Regions from separate parts of the Homo sapiens genome. Here region 2 is linked to region 1. Evidence: promoter capture Hi-C in human tissues and cell types (Jung and others, 2019). All regions are on one chromosome and are shown on one strand. Each heading gives the region's core, a stretch centred on a gene start or on the middle of the fragment in contact. The rest is flanking DNA. Distances are from core to core; before and after follow the strand shown.

The links. The method cuts DNA at HindIII sites, captures the fragments that hold promoters and counts their contacts. A contact is called where the count stands out against the background at its distance.
Region 2: a fragment that was not itself captured here is called in contact with the fragment with the promoter of GTSF1 in region 1 in 1 of the 25 tissues and cell types used here (IMR-90 fibroblasts).

What each region holds. Positions count from the first base shown.
Region 1 is chr12:54,469,176-54,475,371 of GRCh38, forward strand. GTSF1 (gametocyte specific factor 1) reads right to left here and starts at 4,427. Exons shown (of 9, transcript NM_144594.3): 1 at 4,371-4,427; 2 at 2,058-2,102. The coding sequence starts at 2,073. RefSeq lists enhancers at 4,504-5,030, 4,696-4,755. The HindIII fragment of the contact is 6,752 bases long and covers 2,397-6,196 here.
Region 2 is chr12:54,011,136-54,017,472 of GRCh38, forward strand. It overlaps HOXC8 (homeobox C8), which reads left to right. Exons shown (of 2, transcript NM_022658.4): 2 at 1-1,634. The coding sequence ends at 246. LOC124902939 (a long non-coding RNA gene) reads right to left here. Exons shown (of 2, transcript XR_007063323.1): 1 at 5,669-6,337; 2 at 4,878-5,218. It also overlaps a transcript of HOXC4 not described here, a transcript of HOXC5 not described here and a transcript of HOXC6 not described here. Among named protein-coding and RNA genes, the nearest start is that of HOXC8, 5.3 kb to the left of the region's middle. The HindIII fragment of the contact is 4,116 bases long and covers 1-3,781 here.

The sequences.
Region 1 (6,196 bases), core at 3,177-5,676:
CCAAGCAATTCTCCTGCCTCAGCCTCCCGAGTAGCTGGGACTACAGGTGAGTGCCACCAGGCCCAGCTAATTTTTGTATTTTTAGTAGAGACGGGGTTTCACTATGTTGGGCAGGATGGTCTTGATCTTTTCACCTTGTGATCCACCTGCCTTGGCCTCCCAAAGTGTTGGGATTACGGGCCTGAACCACCGCACCCAGCCTTCTTTTTTCTTTTTAAGAGACAGGGTCGGCCAGGCGTAGTGGCTTATGCTTGTAATCCCAGCACTTTTGAGAGGCCAAGGTTGGTGGATCACTTGAGGCCAGGAGTTCGAGACCAGCCTGGCCAACATGGCGAAACCCCATCTCTACTAAAAATATAAAAATTAGCCAGGCGTTGTGGCATGCACCTGTAGTACCAGCTACTCAGGAAGCTGAGGCAGGAGAATCGCTTGAACCCAGGAGGCAGAGGTTGCAGTGAGCTGAGATCATACCACTGCACTCCATCCTGGGTGACAGAGCGAGACTCCTTCTCAAAAAAAAAAAAAAAAAAAAAGACAGGGTCTTGCTCTGTCACCCAGCCTGGGGTGCAGTGGTGTGATCATAGCTCACTGTAACCTCTAACTCCTAGGCTCAAGTGATCCTCCTGCCTCAGCTGCCTGAGTAGCTGGGATTACACGCATGAGCCACCACGCCTGGCTCAGGAATTTCACATCTTAAGTAAAAACACTTTAAGAAGGCTAGGTGTGGTGGCTCACACCTGTAATCCCAGCACTTTGGGAGGCCAAGGCAGGTGGATCACAAGGTCAGGAGTTCAAGACCAGCCTGGCCAACACGGTGAAACCCGGCCGGTCTCTACTAAAAATACAAAAATTAGCTGGGCATGGTGGCACACGCCTATAACCCCAGCTACTCAGGAGGCTGAGGCAGAAGAATTGCTTGAACCCGGGAGGGTGGAAGTTGCAATGAGCCGAGATTGTGCCACTGCACTCCAGCCTGGGTGACAGAGCAAGACTCTGTCTCAAAAGAAAGAAAACAAAAACTTTAAGAAAAATTAAGGGGCAGGGGATCCCTTTTCTCAAGTGTGGTCCTCAGATCAGCATCACCCTGGTAACTTGTTAGAAATGCAAATTCTCAGATACCAGACCTTTTGAATCAGAAAATCTGCAGGTGGGACCCAGCAATCTGGTTCAACAAGCTTTCCAGGTGATTCTGCTGCATGTTAACAAGTTTGAGAACTACTGTGTTCTAGATATTTAATAAAGATTATTTCTATGTAGTTTCTGTATTTTGGAGATATAGCTCTCCACTGGACTCTTCCTAGAGGGTAGAATGGGACTGAAATATCCTTTAGTTGGAACTTTTAATTATAATGAGATTCTGAACAAGACAGCAAAGTAGGAAGAAAAAGTAGGTACTGTTGACAAGTTTTATCCACGGGCATAAACTCAGATATTCCTCAAATTTAGTCAGAGCCTAGAACAGAGCCTGTGGTGTCATGTAGGGTACTAGGTATAAACAATATAGAAGACTCTGGTTCTGACTCTGTCCCTAACTATGTAAACTTGGGCAAAATAATTAATCTAGGTTCTGTTGTCTCTGTTGTAATAGATGATTTTTCAAGTCCCTTTTGGTTCTACACTTGTATGATTCTAGGTGCTGGCTCTGCTTTGATTTCTTGGGCCATCTAAGGTTCCTGGATCACTTGAGAAATAAGAATCCTTCCCAGATTTCTTATCCTAAAAACTAATGTACATCAACATTATTATATATTACTCCTCAAAATAGAAAGTAGAAGTTACTATCCCCGTGTCATACATACAAGAAGGTGAAGTCCTGCCTCATTTAATAGTTTAACAAAGGTGTCCTAACTGTGGCCTTTTCAAAGCTTTATGACTTCTCATACCTCTTTTCTTAATTTTCAAGTATCTTATTTCAAATTTGGGCAATACCATAAAGACTTTTCCTCCTTAGCAGTTGAGAAGTCCGACTTCTTCCCAGCACACTAAAAGTCTTGTCAGATATAAAACTATACGTAAATGATTTAACTTATTTTCTAAAAGCAACAAGGAGTACATACTGTAAGTTTCTTCCATGTTGGAAATGAAGAAGCTGAATCCAAGTGCTGGAAAAAACAAAAGTGTGATTCAGGAAATCAGAAATAAAATGTACCAAAAGGTAACCCTAAGAAGTGGAGTCACTTCTGGATTTGAAACTACCCAAGTTCAATATAAGAAACCTTTACTCTCCCCACTCCCCCCAATATTTTCTTCTCTTTAAAGCATTCTTCTTGGAATCATTTTAACATCATGGCCTAATTCACATTCTTGGAATAAATTCTAGGGCCTACCAAATAGTTAAGAAAAACCAAATATGACTCCTATAGTTCAAATTTAAGCTGTATTTGGGTGATAAGATGTCTACCTTAAGTGCTATTACTTAAGTGCCTGTCACTGTTTAGCATCTATTAGGGTTTGACACTATTAATATAATAGTGATTATAATATAAATATCCATATAATATTTAACATTAGAGGGGGCAAGTCAAGACCACAAGAATACTGTCATTTAAACTTATGCATGAGGGCTGGGCGTGGTCGCTCACACCTGTAATCCTAGCACTCTGGGAGGCTGAGGCAGGAGGATCACTTGAAGCCAGGAGTTTGAGACTAGCCTGGCAACAAAGCAAGACTACGTCTCTACAAAAAACAAAACAACCCCCCCCCAAAAACAAACAAACAAACAAACAAAAAAACAAACTTAGCCAGGCATGGGGGCTCATGCCTGTAGTCCCAGCTACTCAGGAGGCAAAGGCAGGCAGATCACTTAAGTCCAGGAGCTATGAGGTTCGTGCCATTGCACTTGGCCTGGACAATGGAGTGAGATCCTGTCTTTAAAAAAACAAAAAACCCCTTATACATAAACACAGAAATAATGTTCTATTATAAAGCTTTCCTCCTGGGTTCTTAAAAATACAGATAGGCAGGTTACCAGTCTTGTTCCTCTCTAGGACCTGGAAATGCTGGAAGTCTTTGACAGACAGTATACACTCAACCCTTCCAATATGCTTGGAAACACTAGTTCACCATTTTCATGACTTTTCTTAAACATGATCAGGAAGGGCCACACTAACATTGTCCCTTTTTCTAGTGAGGTTTCACCTCCTCTCATCCCAATCTTCAGTGCTAAAGTGGCAATACTTTAAGCTTCTCCAATTAATACTCATTCCCTCTATGCACTAAGGGAAAACCTCTCAATGTTAGGACTCAAGAACTGTCCATATTATGGATAACAGAGTCACAAGAGAACAAATCTGTAACAGGAATGTGAAACATTAAAAGAGAAATGGTTTCACAGTTTGAATCCTTTTCTATTAGAAATCTCTTCTATTGAGCACTGAGACTAAATACATTTATTATTGTGGGAAAAACCTGAATTTATATAAAACCATCCCCATACGAAACTTCTGAAAATTGTCTGTCTCTAGAGCATGCTCTCCTTTGGCCCCTCACACAATTCTACACTCCTCACCACCCCTCCCCCCATTCTGTGACATAAGCAGCGTTAGAACCTATGATAGGAAATACAAGTGATCAGCTAGAACTCTAGTTTTTTTGCTACTGAGCCCATTTGTTAATGACAATCATTAGTGAATTTGTCTTAAAAATATTTTTCATATTTATGTTTGGATCAAGAAATCCCCACCGTCTTTTTGTATATATTTCACTTATACATAGTTACTTCATACTTTTTCATTAAAAATAAGAGTTTTGGAAGGAAGAACCAAGTATGTTTCTTGATTTTAAGTGATGAGCACCAGATTCAGCAGCTTGTAGGAAGCCAACCTATTCTTCCCGGACAAAAGGACGAATTACAGTACACTAGGGGCACTGGAATTCACAGTACCATCACTTAGCCGTGTCTGTTTTAAGTATCTTCCGCATCAAACTGTTAACGGGATTCTTTACCTTTTCCCTACTACTAGATCACGGTGAAATAGACAAGCTACGCCGGAAGCAATCAAGTTTAGGGTATGGATGTAGTCGGCGGCTACTGGTTAAACGCTTAACAGAATTCCGGCCTTAGTAAAAGAATCATTTTTCTTCCTTTAAACAACAACAACAACAACAAAATCACAGTAGACTTAATCAATGAGACTAAATAAGAGAAAGTGGGGGAGGTGGTTAACTTAAAAAAAACATAGAAAAGGCGCCAAGGAGGCCCTCGAGTGGGCAATGCAGCGAAACAGGTTGGTAGCCAAAATAGCTGCATTGAGAGCCCACAAGGCTGAAGGCTACCAGCAGAAAAGCGAAATGAGGATATTAGAAGGTGAAGGTATCCCGGTACGCAAAATAGGAATTGCTTAGAGGCGCCCCGGGGTGCCTTTCCTTACCTCGGTGGACACACACCTTCCTCACAGTCACCTTCCTCCCACGCAAGCCCCAGCAACGGCCACTTCCGGCGCCTAACGTTGGGAGGTGGGGCGAGGGGCCGGCACTTCCTGTGACTGGGAGTCTCGGTTCTGGCTGAGTGTGGGGCAGGGTGGATCAGCTGTGGAGTTCACCTGTGAGCCCCTAGGGTCAGCTCCCTGATGACCCTTTCCCACGAGGATCTCCTCCTTGGGCACCCCATCTTTGGGGCCATCCTCCCCTGGCCCCCAGAACAACAGTGGCCTTGAGAGGGTAGAACTCGCATTTCTTTCCCTGGGTTTTGTGGCGGCCATCTTAGAAAAGGCAGATGAGCACTTAGAAATGGGCACCTGCGATTACCTCAGGAGTTCAAGACCAGCCTGGCCAACATGGTGAAACCTCGTCTCTACTAAAAATACAAAAATTAGCTGGGTGTGGTGGCGGGCGCCTGTAATCCCAGCTACTTGGGAGGCTGAGGCAGGAGAATTGCTTGAACCCGGGAGGCGGAGGCTGCAGTGAGCCGAGATTGCACCACTGCACTCCAGCCTGGGCGGCAGAGTGAGACTCCGTCTCAGGAAAAAAAAAAAAAAAAAAAAAAAAATGGCGCCTGAGGGAATGGGACTGATGGAACTGGTTAGAGGTGGGGAGCTGCCTAGAAAGAAGCCTTGTTTGTGGAAGTTGTCTAGATAGAAAGGTAATTTAGATTTTGAGGGAAGAGAAGAGGAATTATAAAGGAGATACGCAGTGCAGCCACAAAACAATCACCAAGGACAGGAATTTTGTGTCTGGCTGTTCTTGTTTAGAATGTGTTGTAAAATCCCAAAATTCAAAAGGCACTAACTATCTGAGAATGCTTGGTAGGATGATGGTTGTTGCTGCCTGATGAAAGCGAGTTTTAGAGTTGGGGAGAGAGCTCAATGAAGAGTTGGAGAGGACAAGAAGGCCGGAAGGTTACAACTTGTTAAGGGAAAACCAAACGTAGTGTGAGGCTTTGTTCTGGGGAAAAAAAGTGTAAGCTGCAGTTCTTGTCCCCAGAGTGCTTAGAAAAACGACTCCCAAAGTGGATGAAAGGTTTAATAGCAGTACAAAAAATGCCAAAAAAAGTGGTAGAGACTGTAAATTCCTGTAAGGAAAAAAATTAATGGGGCCTGAAATGACCTGGGAAGGCATTATAGAGAAAAGGGACTTGTAGCCTTTGAAGGTTAGACAAAAAAAGGAAGGTGTTGACACTACAAGTAGATCTGGTGGTAATATTTTTCAAAACCAAGAAGTAAAAGATATGACAAAACATTCTGTGCTGTTCAAGATGTAGGAGGCAGTCTGGGTGATTAGTCTGGGCAGTGAAATATTGGGATTTCTACAGCATTTCAGTGGTGTAGAGCCCAAATAGGACTTGAGAGGACTACCCTGACAAAAACTGAATGTAGCTTTAGTAAAAAGGATCAGTGGGGCATTTTCTTTTTCTTCTTTTTTTTTTTTGAGATGGAGTCTCGCTCTGTCGCCCATGCAGGAGAGCAGTGGCATGATCTCGGCTCACTGCAACCTCCGCCTCCTGGGTTCAAGTGATTCTCCTGCCTCAGCCTCCTGAGAAGCTGGAACTACAGGCAGGCACTACCACACCCAGCTTTTTTTTTTTTTTTTTTAAGTAGAGACGGGGGTTTCACCATGTTGGCCAGGCTGGTCTCAAACTCCTGACCTCAGGTGATCTGCCTGCCTCGGCCTCCCAAAGTGCTGAGATTACAGGTGTGATCCACTGCGCCGGGCAAGGGATGTTTTCGTTTTACATGATTAATTTGTGAGCGTTTATTGT
Region 2 (6,337 bases), core at 474-2,973, 460 kb before region 1:
TTGGAACTAGAAAAGGAGTTTCTCTTTAATCCTTATTTGACACGAAAACGTCGGATTGAAGTCTCTCATGCCCTGGGACTGACCGAGAGACAAGTGAAGATCTGGTTCCAGAACCGAAGGATGAAGTGGAAAAAGGAGAACAACAAGGATAAACTGCCGGGAGCCCGAGATGAGGAGAAGGTGGAGGAAGAAGGAAATGAGGAAGAGGAGAAAGAAGAGGAGGAAAAGGAAGAAAACAAGGACTAAGCAAAAAAGAAAGACCCCCCCCCCCTTAGCAACTCCCTTGAAGTTTCGTTTTATGGTAGCAGATAAATTGAGAAGTTTACGACTGTCATTTGCTTTTATAGAGAATAGAATGACACTCACAACTCTAACTACCTGTCAGATACTTGCAGCTCTGGTTTTATTACCTTTGGACTTCCCCCACTCTTTATTTGTTTGGGGGCTGGAGGGGGGAGACGGAGAAACAGTGAAAAGTTCGGACTCTCTGTCTCACTCCTTGCCCCACACACACTTGTCCCTGCCCCCACCCTTCTGAGTCCTTCCTGGATTTTAAGGTCTGAGACCTGGCCTCCGTGCTCCTCGGTCTGTCTCTCACCACACTCCCACCTCCCTGCTTCTCTGGTATTTATTTTAGAGGGGAGCCCCCTCGAAATGCAGAAAAGGACTTGTGGTTTTGTTTTTATGCTAAGGCTAGTGTACTAGATGTACTTTTTCTAAAAAGGAAAGGACAGAAAAAAATGAAGAAAGGAAAGGAAGACAAATGTAAAGAAATAAGGAAAAAAGCAAGGAATATCCCCTCCCCCTCCCCCTCCCCCTCCCCAGGGCTCCCTGCTTAGAAAAACCCCCTTGACTTTCTCTAGGAACCTGATGGAAACCTGAAGGAGATGTGGGTCTTTCCCCTCCCCCCATTTCCAGAAGGGTAGATAGGAGCCTGCAGTCGCCTCTAAAATCCTACCTAACCATCCCATGGTCACTCGGGCCCATGCCTTCCTCTCCTTCGCTGTTTGATTTCTATTCTGTTGGGCCCGCCTTCCTCTGAGCTGCATTAGTGTTAGTGCTCAGAAATCACCATAATCACGAAAATAATAATAATAAATCTTTAACATACTACCTAAAGGGAACCTGCAATAATCTTGAAAAAGAAAAAGAGAAAAATTTTAAAATCCTGCTATAGGAGAAAAAAAGAGAAAAAAATAAAAATCAAAAAAAAAAAAAAGAAAGAAAGAAACCTCCAGCGTATTTTATCACTACCTATAGAAAGAAATCCTGCTTTGAGAGTATTTGTAATGCGGTTTTGTTGTCGTTTGTTGCTGCTTATTTCACTAAGAAAACCCAACAACTGAGACTGCCTAGCCCGCCGGTCCTGTGCGCTTTTATTGTGCTTCTAACCCCAGTAGAGTAGAACTAAATTGCACTGAATGTATAGTTAACTCTGTCTTGAATTCTCTGTTTATGCAATGTGCTCGAAAGAAAAAAATGTTAAAAATATATCTATAATAATAATTTTTTGTCATTTGTCTTTATGTCCAGCTATGAATGTAGATTTTGTGTCCCGACAGCCCTGTTCCTGGTCCAAGTACTTTGTATTGTATACGTGAGTCATAATAATAAAAAGAAGAAGAAAAATAATAGAAGCTGGAATGACTTGCTTTTTCTCCACAGCTCTTCCCTATTCTCTACCTTCTCTCTCCTTATCCCCCTGTCCAACTCTCTGGAAAAGGTCTGCTTCACTGCTCTGGCTTTGGGGTTCAGAAACTCACGTGGAGAGAAGCCTGGGAATTGAGAAAGCATGCTGGCCTGGGAGGGCAGGTGAAAGGGGTGAGGGGTTGAGAGGAGGAAGAAAAGGAGCAGTCCATTGGTTGAGAGAGTAAGGAGTCTATAGGTATGCCCTTGGGGGAATCTTGGCTCCAAACAAAGTGGGTTTCCAGACGCCAGGATCCCAATGGGAAGAAAGATTTCCTCACTCATCCACCCTCCTCCTCCTCAGCCTTGGGCTGGGCCCAGACAAAGAATCTGCCCTATGCAACTATGACTTTTTCTTCCAGGGTCTGGGGCTGAGGATGAGATAGTGGGATTCCTTCTGATCTCCGCATGCCCCTTGTGGCCAGACCTTAGCACCCAGCACCCAGCACTAGAATAATGAACCGGGTGGGGATGTGTGAGGCTCAGGGCAACTGGCTGGCCTGTCTGCAGGGCTTGCCTGAAGATGGGGGATGCTAAGAATGGAGGGTGAGGAAGCTTAAGCCTGAAGGAGAGGAGAAAGGAAGGGGAAAGTAAGTGAGCTCGTAGGCAACCAGCCTGAGCCCACATCCTGAAATTCACATTCAATCCTCTGCACAGGAAGATTGTCATCACTGTCATTCAGCCCGCTTGCATCCACTCCAACTTCTGTTCAGACGGTTTAAAGTCCACTCCCCACTTCACCTTGGCAATTGGTCAGCTTACCCAGCCCCCATAGTGTGGGCCATTGGCCTGGAGGATGGGCCTGCTGAGTGGACATCCTGCCACCCCAGTCACAGCGGGGTAAGAGGGCGTCTTTATTGGTATCTTCATTCCCCAAAATGAAGAATTGAAGGCTCAGGGACCCAGGGGGTAGAAGGGTCTCTCACTTCTCTCTGGAGAGTCCTGGACTTAAAAATTCTGTTTATGCCAATAAGATTCTGGTCAAATAATCCCAAATTCCAGAGATACAAGTCTTCTGACTCAGTCAGGAGAGGGGAAAAGGGAGGGGAGGGATCTTCTGGTCTTAAAAACCAGACCCCCGAAGGCTGAAATATTTTTGAGGCCAGATTTTCTTTCTTTCTTTTTCTCTTCTCTTCTCTTCTCTTCTCTTCTCTTCTCTTCTCTTCTCTTCTCTTCTCTTCTTTCTCTCTCTCTCTCTCTCTCTCTCTCTCTCTCTCTCTCTCTCTCTCTCTCTGTCCTCCCCACCCCTCATCTGTCTAGCTCCTGGTCAATGATTTTCCCAGACCTAGGCCCAGGCCAACTCTTGTTTTGTGGAATTTCACCCAGGTCCCAGTCACTGGTCCCCACGCAAACCGGGCCTGAAAATCGGGCCTGAGTAGAGAATTGAGTCGGGCTTCCTTCACAGGGGGACTCCTGCAGTCCGAGAAAGGCTGTGAATTGGAAGCACAGGCTGCAGGCAGCTGGGGCAGCTTTGAGCAGGAGCTCCGGGAAATCTTCTCTAACCTGGGGTCCCTGCTGTGAGCAGCGGCACCAGCCAGGTAACCTGTTCTCAGTGGGAGACACCGGCTACCCACCAGGGAAGCCAGAAAAGAGGCCATTTCGCTCAGACCTCAGGCCTTCCCACAGGCGTGTCCTCCATACTCCGAGGGATGGCTGAGGTCCCGTTTCGTTTTTAAACGTGGAATTATGATTGCTATTAATAAAAATATCTGGCCCAGTAGCCTAGCGGAATGAACCCAGCATTAAATGGCTCCGAAGGGCCTCGCCGCCTTTTCCCCACACCAAATGTGCCATTTATCCCTTGTCCTGTTCAGCAATGTCCGTGGCCCCAAGCCCGGCGCGTCGGAGGGCGGGGTGCGTCTGGCGCCCGGCTTTACTCGAGATGCCAGGCATGGAGAGGGCTAAGCCGAGGGAGCCCCAGCCACCCCCTCATGCAGTACCCGCTCCCCCACCCCTCCTGCCCACCGCCTCTGTTTTCTCGTTTGGAAAGAAATGGAGGTAAAAACCCGTTTTATGGGGGAACGTAATTGTGAGCGGGATGCGCTCTCTTTAGAATCGCGTCCTCCCAAATGCTCCCGCCGTCCCATTACCGGAATGGGGACCATTCGGCTGCTGCAGATAGGACTTTCTCTCCCATTCTTTACTTTTTTATTAGCCAATCAAAGTGGCTTCCGAAAGCCATTTGTGATTTGTGAAAAATAGTATCTTTCAAAATGCTGAGTTGAAGCATCTCGCTCATTGCTCCTTGAATTTATTATTCTAATCTCAACCGTAGAGCTGGAATAATGCAGCTATTAAGTTGGGGGGCAAATTCGTTTCTCTGGATTAAATTTTTTTTCCTCCCCACTCCCTCATTGCATCAGCCAAGGAAGGTGCGGACCTGCAAGAGATCTGGGGGTGGGTGAGAGAGGTAGTGAGCGTCCTGAAGGGCTCCTTGAGGGACCCTTGGATAGGCGAGTGGTTTGGTCTCCCCAGTCTTATCTTCCCCAGATAAGATGCCCTAATGACTGCCTGCTGGCTGGGAAAGTTACCCCGCCCAATTAGGGAGAATTCAGGACAGGTTGTGCCACAGTCTAGAAGTAAAATTTCCGGTGAGCTGCCCGCAGCGCCGTCCCATTCTCCCCGCTGCCCATTGTGAAAAGCTGGGCCAGCGCTTCCTTGTCGTAATTTTTAACTACCTGTTATAAAATTTATGGGTGGGTTTGTGAAAAGAAACGAGGTCCCTGCATCCGGCCTAGGGAACTGCTTTTCTTACTATGGAGGAAGTCTGGGGAAGGCATGAGGTATCCCCTCTTGGTCAGGGTTGAGGCACCCAACCATTGAGATTCCCATGCCAGCTTGATGCGGGACCAAGTGGAGAGATGCCGGCCTTCAAATCTCGAGCCCGTGGGGAGAGTGACCTGCCTGCAACCCCTCCCCCGGCAAATAGTCTCTATGGGGGAATTTATTCTGGACTCACCTTCAAAATTAGGGGTCTGGAAAAACAGGCTGCTCGAAATTTTAGCACAGAAGGTGGAATTCAGGGCAGTAAAAGGTTATTTTTTCAGGCCTCGGTAGTACATCCCAGCTGCCCAGACATTGAATCAGGAAATTTTTCTGAGAAAGGCAGGTGGGTATGGGCAATCTGACACGATCCAAAAGGCTTACTGCCTTGCACCCCTCCCCGCAAAAAGGAAGTAGAGACCAAGATCTTGGGCTTTAATTTTATTTTTAATTGTAAAAAGATTTCAAATAAGCCACCATTTGAACTGGGAAGGGAAACTAGGGATGGTCTTGGGGGAAAATGTCATTCTCTCTAAGAAAGGGACCCCGGGGATGTGGGTCGTTTTGAGGGTCCTAGAAGTTGACCCCAATTCTCACCTCTCCTGCTGCACTGCAGGATTGCCCAGGGTAGGTCTAGTCCCCTAGGTTCTTCAGACCACTCCAGGTCAGGTTTGGTTGGGTGGCTGCCAGTGGTCTTCCACTACTGTTCCTGTCTAGGGTGGAGTAGGAGCTTTCAGGGGTACGGCATAGAGGGGATGTTGTTCTCTTACTAAAAAAAAAAAAAAAAAAAAAAGGTAGGGGTAGGGAGGCACCCTTTCAATCCCTGCAATTCACCAGCCATCACTGCCTCAAGGCCACAAATCTTTGCAAAGCTTTGAATTCCGCCTGATCCAACCTTAATGCCCCCATTTATTAAGGACAATATTTAAAACTCGGCAAGCCAGGAGAGGCAACCGACCCTCAGTGCTTGAAGCTTTCTTTCGCCTGGGCGTCCGCCCTCAGCTCTTTCTGCGCTCGCCTGCAGCAGCCTGGCCCGTGGGGAGTGGGCGGTGGGTGGGGGTAGGGGTGGGGTGGGGGTCCGGGGATGCTCCCTCTATGAGAGAATTGGGTAAACATGGCGACCGCGGCGCCCATTTGCACACGCTACACAAATGCATCGCATTCCCGGTTGTTTGCAGAAAATTTACAGCTGAGTAATAAAAGTTTACGATCGACTCACAAGTTGGATTGGCCACAAGAAGTCATGTGGATTCCATCCATGAACGTGAACTTTTTATTGTGGTTTGTCCGTTCCGAGCGCTCCGCAGAACAGTCCTCCCTGTAAGAGCCTAACCATTGCCAGGGAAACCTGCCCTGGGCGCTCCCTTCATTAGCAGTATTTTTTTTAAATTAATCTGATTAATAATTATTTTTCCCCCATTTAATTTTTTTTCCTCCCAGGTGGAGTTGCCGAAGCTGGGGGCAGCTGGGGAGGGTGGGGATGGGAGGGGAGAGACAGAAGTTGAGGGCATCTCTCTCTTCCTTCCCGACCCTCTGGCCCCCAAGGGGCAGGAGGAATGCAGGAGCAGGAGTTGAGCTTGGGAGCTGCAGATGCCTCCGCCCCTCCTCTCTCCCAGGCTCTTCCTCCTGCCCCCTTCTTGCAACTCTCCTTAATTTTGTTTGGCTTTTGGATGATTATAATTATTTTTATTTTTGAATTTATATAAAGTATATGTGTGTGTGTGTGGAGCTGAGACAGGCTCGGCAGCGGCACAGAATGAGGGAAGACGAGAAAGAGAGTGGGAGAGAGAGAGGCAGAGAGGGAGAGAGGGAGAGTGACAGCAGCGCTCGGTAAGTGTTTCCTTATTGGTTCAAATATGTAACTAATGGTCCGTGGCGGTTTCAAGAA